2 separate regions of the Homo sapiens genome follow, and region 1 is linked to region 2. Evidence: promoter capture Hi-C in human tissues and cell types (Jung and others, 2019). All regions are on one chromosome and are shown on one strand. Each heading gives the region's core, a stretch centred on a gene start or on the middle of the fragment in contact. The rest is flanking DNA. Distances are from core to core; before and after follow the strand shown.

What was found. Contacts are between HindIII fragments. The study calls those that stand out against the background at their distance.
Region 1: a contact is called between a fragment that was not itself captured here and the fragment with the promoter of HAL in region 2, in 1 of the 25 tissues and cell types used here (mesendoderm cells).

What each region holds. Positions count from the first base shown.
Region 1 is chr12:95,809,171-95,813,866 of GRCh38, forward strand. The region is part of intron 2 of SNRPF-DT (SNRPF divergent transcript); the gene reads right to left. All of the region lies in intron 1 of LINC02410 (long intergenic non-protein coding RNA 2410), which reads left to right. Among named protein-coding and RNA genes, the nearest start is that of LINC02410, 8.4 kb to the left of the region's middle. The HindIII fragment of the contact is 3,368 bases long and covers 1,717-4,696 here.
Region 2 is chr12:95,993,871-95,998,733 of GRCh38, forward strand. HAL (histidine ammonia-lyase) reads right to left here and starts at 2,474. Exons shown (of 21, transcript NM_002108.4): 1 at 2,208-2,474; 2 at 1,794-2,121; 3 at 1,063-1,123; 4 at 928-955; 5 at 220-294; 6 at 56-128. The coding sequence starts at 2,040. It overlaps LOC102723340 (a long non-coding RNA gene), which reads left to right and starts at 2,612. Exons shown (of 4, transcript XR_945237.4): 1 at 2,612-2,760; 2 at 4,461-4,557. RefSeq lists enhancers at 2,687-2,856, 4,081-4,375, 4,822-4,863. The HindIII fragment of the contact is 2,850 bases long and covers 47-2,896 here.

The DNA.
Region 1 (4,696 bases), core at 2,151-4,650, 180 kb before region 2:
ATTTAAAGGATAATGACTAAACTCTTTCCTATTTCCTGCTTAATTTCCTTTTAAAGAAAAGTATTGGACTTTAAAAAATATTACTCATTCTTTAAATAAAAAAAACCAAGGAATTAGAATTCTCTTAACAAGTGCATCTTCTAGAGCAGCAGTCTCCAATCTTTTTAGCACCAGGGACTGGTTTCACGGAAGACAATTTTTCCATGGACGGGGTCGGTGGGGGGATGGTTTTGGGATAAAACGGTTCCACCTCAGATCATCAGGCATTAGATTCTCATAGAGAGCCTGCAGCCTAGCTCCCTTGCATGTGCAGTTCACAATAGGGTTTGAATTCCTATGAGAATCTATTGCTGCCACTAATCTGACAGGAGGCGGAGCTCTTGTGGTAATGCTGGCCGGCCACTCACCTCCTGCTGTGCAGGCTGGTTCCTAACAGGCCACGGACCAGGAGTTGGGGACCCCTGTTCTAGAGCAAAGAATTTCAGATGAAGAAATAAGTGACTAAAACAAAAGCACTTTTATAAGTTTAGAAAGGATGGCTCTATATAGATCTACATAAGAAGAAAAAAAATCAATCAAATAGTATCTGTGTCACGTTGATGTATCTTGTTGAACCTTCTAGTCCCATCCCAATGTTTAGCATCGTAAACACACATGCAGGCCAGGTGTAGGTGGCATTGGGGCAGCACTACAGTGACAAGAGCACCTTGGGAAGTACCATAAGCAGAGAATGTTTGCGTTTGGGTCACTCCCAGGAAAGTTGCAGAGACATAATAGAAAAAAGCTAAAACTACAAAGGCATTTTTTTAAAAAAGGTTAACTTATTATTATTATTTTTAAATTTTACTTTAAGTTCTGCGATACGTGTGCAGAACATGCAGGTTTGTTACATACATTTGTATGTGCCATGGTGGTTTGCTGCACCTATCAACCTGTCATCTAGGTTTTAAGCCCCACATGCATTAGGTTATTTGTCCTAATGCTCTCCCTCCCCTTGCCCCCAAGCCCCCAACAGGCCCTGGTGTGTGATGTTTAAAATGATTAACTTATAAAGAAACCAAAGTGATCAGCTTTCATATTTATAATTATAGAAAACATTAAACTCACATTGCTAAGGGTGTAGTTAAGACTTTCTTCATCTTCAGCTATGTCCTTTTAGGGAACTGAACATTTTTTAATTTTTTATACAAAATTTAAAAACTCTCCTTATTTAAAATTGATTGACTACCCAAAAATGTGTCTTTCTTTGCTTCCATTCCATGATTTATAAAGAATTAGCTTTAGTACTCTTTTTAGAGTGTAGGTTGAAAAGGCATTTTATTTTCCACCTCAGAGTAATTTTTAAACCACATCAATTATTTTTCATGTGCAGCCGTTTTTATCCACAAATTATTGCCTTAGGCATTTTTACTTTACCACACATTTCAGAAGAGAAGGAATGAAGGGGAACCAGCTAATCTACAAATGTTCACCTACAGTAGATCAGGCCAAAAAAAGGAGAGAAGAATATGACCCAAAGCTTCTTCAGAAATAAGAACTGCTTATTAATAGTCTAATGCAGGGGTGTCCAGTCTTTTGGCTTTCCTGAGCCACACTGGAAGAAGAAGAAGTGTCTTGCGCCACACATAAAATACACTAACACTAAAGAAAGCTGATGAGCTAAAAAAAAAAAAAGAAAAAGAAAAAGAAAAAAGCAAAAAAAAAATCTCATAATGTTTTAAGAAAGTTTATGAATTTGTATCAGATTGTAAGCCTCTTGAGAACAATCTTGGGCTTTATTTATGTTTCCCAGCACATAAGTAAACATTTCCCAACAAAATGCATAAATGGTAGGGGATAAAGTAAATTGGGAATCAACTCTTTAGTGATAATTAAATGCAAGGAAAGTAGATTATATATTCAGCGTTTACCAAGCTTGGTAAATAAAGCACAAGATTGTTCTCAAGAGGCATACAATCTGATTTGGCATGTAATAATTTGCACATAAAGCAATGAGAAACTACTATAAGGCAATAAAACATGCTAGAGACTGGGAGACCCAGAAAAAGAAAAAAAAAGCTGGATGGCGACTATGATAAGGTTTGGATATGCTAAAAAGGGGCAAGAAAGACATTCTCCAAAGGAATACATGAAAGTTTAAAATTAATAAGGGGCTGGGCGTGATGGCTCACACCTGTAATCCTAGCACTTTGGGAGACAGAAGAGGGAGGATTGCTTAAGCTCAGGAGTTGGAGACCAGCCTGGGTGACATACTGAGACCTCGTCTCTACTAAAGATAACAAAAATTAGCCAGGCATGGTGGCACAAACCTATAGTTCCAGCTACTCAGGAGGCTGAAGTGGGAGGCTCACTCAAGCCCCGAGGCTACAGTAAACTATGATCATGCCATTACACTCCAGAAGGAGTGTAATATCTTTTCTGTTTGCTAAAATTATACTGCTTTGGATTCACCCATTTATTTCTATCATGTTTTCTAAGAAGGAGAAAAGGCTACAAGATATTGAGATGTTCACCTGTCAATGAAAAGGAGCTATAATTTGGCCCAGAAAGAAAGTCTATTGATCCAAGGAGCAGCTTAGACACAGAGCTGTTTTCAGTATTACCCAGGTCTCATGCTATCCACCACCAGCAGTCCTCACTGAACTTCCCCCCAAGCTGAATAATTCTAAACTTTAGAAAATGCTAACAATTTTTAAAGTGTCAAGAAATTATGGTAAAATGAACACTTACATTTGGTACATGATATGAACATATACAAACAAAATATTTTACTACAGAACCATAAATTGATGGAATGATCAAATAAGATTATAGAATCATGGCTATAGAAATAGAAATACAAGGTCAGGAGCAGTGGCTCATGTCTGTAATCCCAACACTTTGGGAGGCCGAGGTGGGCAAATCATGAGTTCAAGAGATCGAGACCATCCTGGCCAATAGTGAAACACCATCTCTACTAAAAATACAAAAATTAGCTGGGCGTGGTGGTGCATGCCTGTAGTCCCAGCTACTTGGGAGGCTGCGGCAGGAGAATTGCTTGAACCTGGGAGGCAGGGGTGGCAGTGAGGTGAGATCGCGCCACTGCACTCCAGCCTGGTGACAGAGTGAGACTCTGTCTCAAAAACAAACAAACAAACAAACAAACAAAAAGAAATACAAGTCTGTTGACTAAGCCTACCATGACTCATGTAGGATGATATCGTCTAGAGAAAAACATGGCCATTAAATCAAGTACTTGTGATAACAGTCAAATGATATCAAGTTCTAAAGTCAGAGAGAAATAGTTAAATCAATAACTGAAAATTTACAGATTTTATTGGATAAATGGTGAAGTATTTAGTTGTGAAAATATAAACTTTTCTCCAGAGTTAAAATGCCTGAGTACTGACCCTCCTTTGTTTGTAATTGACAATATCCCTAAGATATTTTCTTAAAGAAAATTATCAGTATCAACATTTTAACTCTGGAGAAAAATATATATATAATGATAATTTTCTTTAAGAAAACATCCTACGGTTTTTGTCAATTACAAACAAAGAAGGGTTAGCATTCAGGTTCTTTGCCTTAAGGAAACAGAACTCTGAATGTAGAGCTCTTTATGACTCCAATAAAGGGCATATATTTTTCTGTATCTCCTAGAAAGAGGTGTGGAAGTTTTTGGTGGTTGAAGAATTAGAATCCAAGTTAGATTCTGTTCTCTTAAAACAGGATCCATTTTCCGCATGTAATTTCACAATGGGTGCTATGACCAGCTAAGCCTATAAATGATCACTGCACCAAATCAGGACTCTAATATACTACTGTTTTACTTTATATGCCTAGTACATATAGCAAAGTTGCATAACAGAAGAAAAACAAACCCTGGTTTTACCATTCTCATGGCGTTAACATAATCTCCAGTGAGTAAAATGATACTTCTTAAAAATTGGCCCAATTTATCTATTGTAACTATAGCCTATAACGTACTTTCAGTAACAGGGTGATCATGATAAAGAAGAATGCTGACCAGGTGTGGTGGCCCACACCTGTAATCCCAACACTTTGGGGGACTGAGGCAGGAGGATTGCTTAAACCCAGGAGTTTGAGAACAGCCTTGGCAACGTAGCAAGACACCATCAATACAAAAAATTTTAAAAATTGGCTGAGCAGTTGGGCGTGGTGGCTCATGCCTGTAATCCCAGCACTTTTGGAGGCCAAGGCGGGTGGATCACCTGAGGTCAGGAGTTCGAGACCAGCCTGGCCAACATGGTGAAACCCCATCTCTACTAAAAATACAAAAATTAGCTGGGTGTGGTGGCGGCATCTGTAGTCCCAGCTATTCGGGAGGCTGAGGGAGGAGAATTGCTTGAACCCAGGAGGCGTAAGTTGCAGTGAGCCAAGATCATGCCACTGTACTCCAGCTTGGGCAACAGAGTGAGACTCTGTCTCAAAAAAAAAAAAAAAAAAATTAGCTGAGCATGGTGACACCTTCTTATAGTCCTTCCTACTTCAGAGCCTGAAGTAACAGGATCACTTGAGCCCAGGAGGTCAAGGCTGCAGTGAGCCACGATCACACCACTACCCTCTATTCTGGGCAACAGAATGAAACTCCGTTTCACTAAAAAAAAAAAAAAGAAGAAGAAGAAGAAGAAGAAGAAGAAGAAGAAGAAGAAGAAGAAGAACCCTCTTTGTCATTCAACACCTGTTTTTGAAAACT
Region 2 (4,863 bases), core at 1,224-3,723:
GCAGGGATTTTTGTTTGTTTATAAAAATATTTATAACATAAAGATAAAAAGATACCTGTTTTCTCTTTTATGATGCTATCTATGACCTCCCTGGATTTCTGCACCCTCTTCTCAGCTGTTGGGGTGAGCTAGGAAAATGTTGATCAGAACTGAGCACGTTAAAGACTTCCACGGGCAACAAAAATGGCCAGAGGACATCTTTCCCCTCCCTCCCCATACCTTTATTTTGTAGCGTCCCTTTCCCAAGTTGACCAGATCCTCCGTGGTCAGACGGTCTCCATCTAACTCGATGTACTACACAAAAGAAGGGGATCTCAGTGAGTCTGAACAGCTTGATTATTCTAACCAGAGTAGGGACACCTCCAACAGAACCAAACTGACATTTCAGAGATCTGATCATTGCGTGAAACATGAATATGCTAAATAAAAATGCATCTTGCATAAGAGGAGGCTTATTGGTGCAAAAGCATAATGCCTTTCCAAGCCCCCTTTCCCCACTACAGAGCTGGATAAAGCCCTGTGGTTGGTTGGTTTGTTTGTTTTGAGGCAGAGTCTCCAGCCCAGGCTGGAGTGCAGTGGTACAAACATGGCTCACTGCAACCTCTGCCTCCTGGGTTCAAGCAATTCTCGTGCCTCAGGCTCCTGAGTAGCTGGTATTACAGGTGCACGCCACCATACCTGGCTAATTTTTGTACTTTTAGTAGAGATGGGGTTTCACCATGTTGGCCAGGCTGGTTTCAAACTGATGACCTCAAGTGAACTGCCCACCTCGGCCACCCAAAGTGCTGGGACTACAGACATGAGTCACTGCTCCCGGCCAGCCCTGTTCTAATTGACAGTGTTTTCTCAGAAGTTTTCCTGGCTTTCCTCCCTCTTAAATAAGGGGCCTTAATTTTCTGAAGAAAAAGAAAGTGGTTTGAAGCTTACCTTTTCAGGCTCCCGGTACTTGCTGTATCTGTATCCAGGTAAAGGAACATATAGGGTGGTGTGGAAAAACCCCCAGCCCCACCATCTGCAGGAGCCACCCCCAGAGCAGACCAAAGAGCCTGTGGGAAAGGATACAGATAAACTCCTTCTGGTTGAGATGGAATGAAGTCAGGAGACATGGCATCACCCTCTATAACTAAAACAATGCACGGGAGACTCGTTACAGATCACATTGTACAGCCATGTTCCCCCTGTTAAACCAAGGAACGGCCCATCATTGGCCCATGAATTCTATAGAAATGGCTGCTTTAAAACTGCTTCAGATGGTTTCATGTGGTCTTAGCATCTTTATGTAGGAGGAGAGCAAAAAGCAGAAAGGTAGGTGTCAGGGCAGAGACCAGGGGTTTAGATGAAAGTTCAAGACAGAATTCCACTTCCATCCCCATTCCCAGCTTTATTTTCTTCAAAATCTGAACTGATGCTATGCTGCCGGCCTCCAGTCTGGGGGTGGGGGTGGATTCTTTCGAAAGGCAAAATAACCTCAAAATGATTCAGTCACTGCAAAGGGATTCAGACCTGCAGCCTTGAGTACCAGTCTAGTCTTTGTTACTTACTAGCTGCTGGAGTCTGGGTAAGTTACCTCCTCTCTGATTTCTCCTCCATCAGAGGTGGAGGAGAATCCTACCCATCTCACAGGGTTGTGTGAGGACTTAAGATCCCCAGAGGCGTGGCATGTGCCTGCACAGGGCCAGCCTCGGCAAGCCTGACCTCTGCTCATCATTTTCCCTGAGGTGGGGGTTCAATGCTGCAAAGACTAAGCCAGGCCAAACCGCACCCGTTCGCGGCCCTCTCCTGCAGCCACTCACCCACTTCCACGAACTCGTTGTTCTCTAGGGCCACCTCGAGCCGGTCCTCGTTGTCCAGCAGGCCCAGGCCCTTGCACCGGCGCACAAGGAAGTGCGCGTCATCCACGGAGGTGAAGCCACCATTGTCGGGCTTATTCTTGATATAGCGCCTCACGGCCTCCCGGCCCAGCCAGCCCACAGTGAGCTGCGCGTCCTGGCAGGGCACTGCCAGCCATTCCCCACGTACGTGCACCGTGTATCTGGGCATGGCTCCGCTGCAGCCTGAGGTCCTCAGCTGGTCACAGGAGGGGAGAGCTTTATGCAGGAGTGGCTACCGGGGTGTGGTCAGCTGGAAGGATGAGAATAGACTTTCAAACCACTCCCCCTCCTTCACCTTTACTCATTCATGCATTGGACAAATATTTATTGAGGTACCTGCTGTCCCTTTGGTTTTTGTAGCCGAGCAGGGGCAGGAGCAGGGGATGCAGACGGGTGAGCCTCCTGTCCACTTTCCATCCAGACCTGCTGCCAGAAAGGCCTGGGGTCTCCCACCCTGGGAGGTGCTGTTCTTGTCCCTGATGGCACCTACCTGCTGCTGGCCCCCTTTCTTCAGGGTCCCCAATTTCTCTCTCTTCCCTCGTTTCTGTCTGTGTTCTCTGCCATTAAGGGCAGCTTATAAACACCATGTTCCTGTCTTTATCTGAGATTACTCAACTGTAAAACGTGTTCTGTGGGCCAACTGTGACACTGGGAGTGTGGCAATCGTCACTCATTTGTTTATTCCACAAACATGTATTGAGCAACTACTTCCTGTCACCAGTAAGGTTTTCTGAAGCTTTCTTTCCACCAGGGAAGACTGCAAAGGCCAGAGATCATTTTCACAACTAAAGGTCGTCATCTGGGCAAATGAACCACTCTGACTTGGAGATTAGGGGCTCAGACAGCCGTGGATGAGAGTCCAGCTCTACTACTTATTAGCCTTGATTAGGTGAGTATTACCCTGTATTTCCTTATCAGAAGGCCTAGGGGCTAACTGCCTCCTTCCAGTATGTGCAGGATTTACCTGTGATCAAATCCTGGCTCTGCCATTTGCTAAGTGTATGACTTGTGGGCAAGTGATTTGACTTCTCTGGGCCTCAGTTGCCTCATCTGTAAAATGAAGATAATGGTAATGATGATAGTATATATGTCAAAGGGCTATTGGGAGGATGAAGTCAGTTCATATATGTAAAGCCCTCAACACAACACCTGGCATAGTGGAAATATTATAGAAGTGTCTGTGATTACTAGTATCTGGACACCAATACTCCATGTAACTATAATGCTTTATAAATGTTCTGTATGAATCATAAAGCTATAAAGTTCCATAAATGCTCTTTCATCTTGGCACATGGATATCCCTCACCCAATTAAGCTTCTTCACCACAGATAACTGCTCCCTGCACCCGCCTTATTACCATTGGTATTAAGGAACTCTGGATAGCATGATTACGGCATCAAAGATATGCAGATGCTATTTTGACTAAGCAGCACTTTCATCGTAAGCCAATTTTTAGAGATTTGATTATTGCACTAGAAAAATCCTGAAAAGTCTGTTTCCACTAAATCAGACTTCTGTTGGGAAGAGAGACATGGTTGCTCAAGAAAAACACCTATACTCATACCCAGAGTCCCTCTCATCTGCTGACAGCTTCCCAGGAAGCGTACAAATAGCTACCCTTCCTTGAGCCTTATTGAAACTTGCTCTTCAGATACCCACACCATGACTGCACCCTGGAATTTGTCATGACCTGAATTTGACACACTTAAGAAATCACCCTGGAATCTGTCACGACCTGAATTTGACACACTTAAGAAATCTGAAATTCCAATATTCCACCTTCTGACCACAACCTTCCAGCTGCCCTTTTACTCTAGTCACTGCCAGCCTTGGACCTGACCTCCAGTCAGTCTCTTCATCCCTCCACTTCCCACCAGCATCCTCACTTACTATCCTAGGAAGCTGGTCCCTAGTCGCTCACTGGACCACTCTTTCTTAAGCACTCTGAGATTCCTTTGCATCCCTAAACTTATGTCTACACTTGGAATAACACCCATCCCCTTAGTCATCACAAAAAACAGCCATCTCTTGGAAGGATTGCTTAAGCCTAGGCAGTCAATGCTGCAATGAGTTATGATTATACCACTGTACTCCAGCCTGGGTGAGAGCAAGACCCTGTTTAAAATTAAAAGAAACTGTCATATCTGTTCACCCAGGCAGAAGACACTGATAGAGAAAGTCCTGTGATCACATAGTTTGATGGTATTGCCCTTTTATTCCATCCAGCCCACAGTGACTTTCCAAAACTTTGACCCCTCTGCCAGGACCTTCTCGACATCCACCTCTAATTCTCAGAAGGAGACCTTACTTCCTACATCTGTGAGAAAACTGAGGACTGCACATGTGAACCACCTTAACCTTCTGCCCCACCCCCCCCCATTCATTCCTTGACTCATTTAACAAATATTTTTTCAACACCTGTTATGTAACAAGCTCTATGCGAGGTGCTGGGGATGAAATAAATAACAAACACGCTCTACATTCATGAGGCTTACTGTCTGGTGATGGATAAAGCTGTATAAAGATGACTAATAAGAGGTCTAACTATCTTCATGCTGCAAAACAACCCAAACTACTGCATGCTCCAGTTGACTGTCACTGCCGAGACCAGCTTCTGAGTAATTTCAGCCCAGGCATCAGACTAGTGAGGGAAGGAGCTTCCAGGTGATACCACCTCCCAGCCATGTAAGTCACCCCCAGCAGTTTGAGGATTCTAAACTCAGGCCCTACGCATTGTGGAGCAGAGTCTTCCTTGTTATTCTTTCTCCAGAAACGCACTTTCCAACTTCCTTTGCCTGTCTAGATCTTTCTTACTCCTTAAGCCTGTTTAGGCCTTTTCTTCTCCAGGAAGCATTCCCTAAATTCTTCAGTTGGGTTAAGTGGCCCTTCTCTGGGATGCCTTAGCATAGCTCTTCTTTAGTATTATCTAGGAAATTACTTGTCTGTGTTCATCCATAATTATGTATATATCCGATCTGGCACAAAGACATT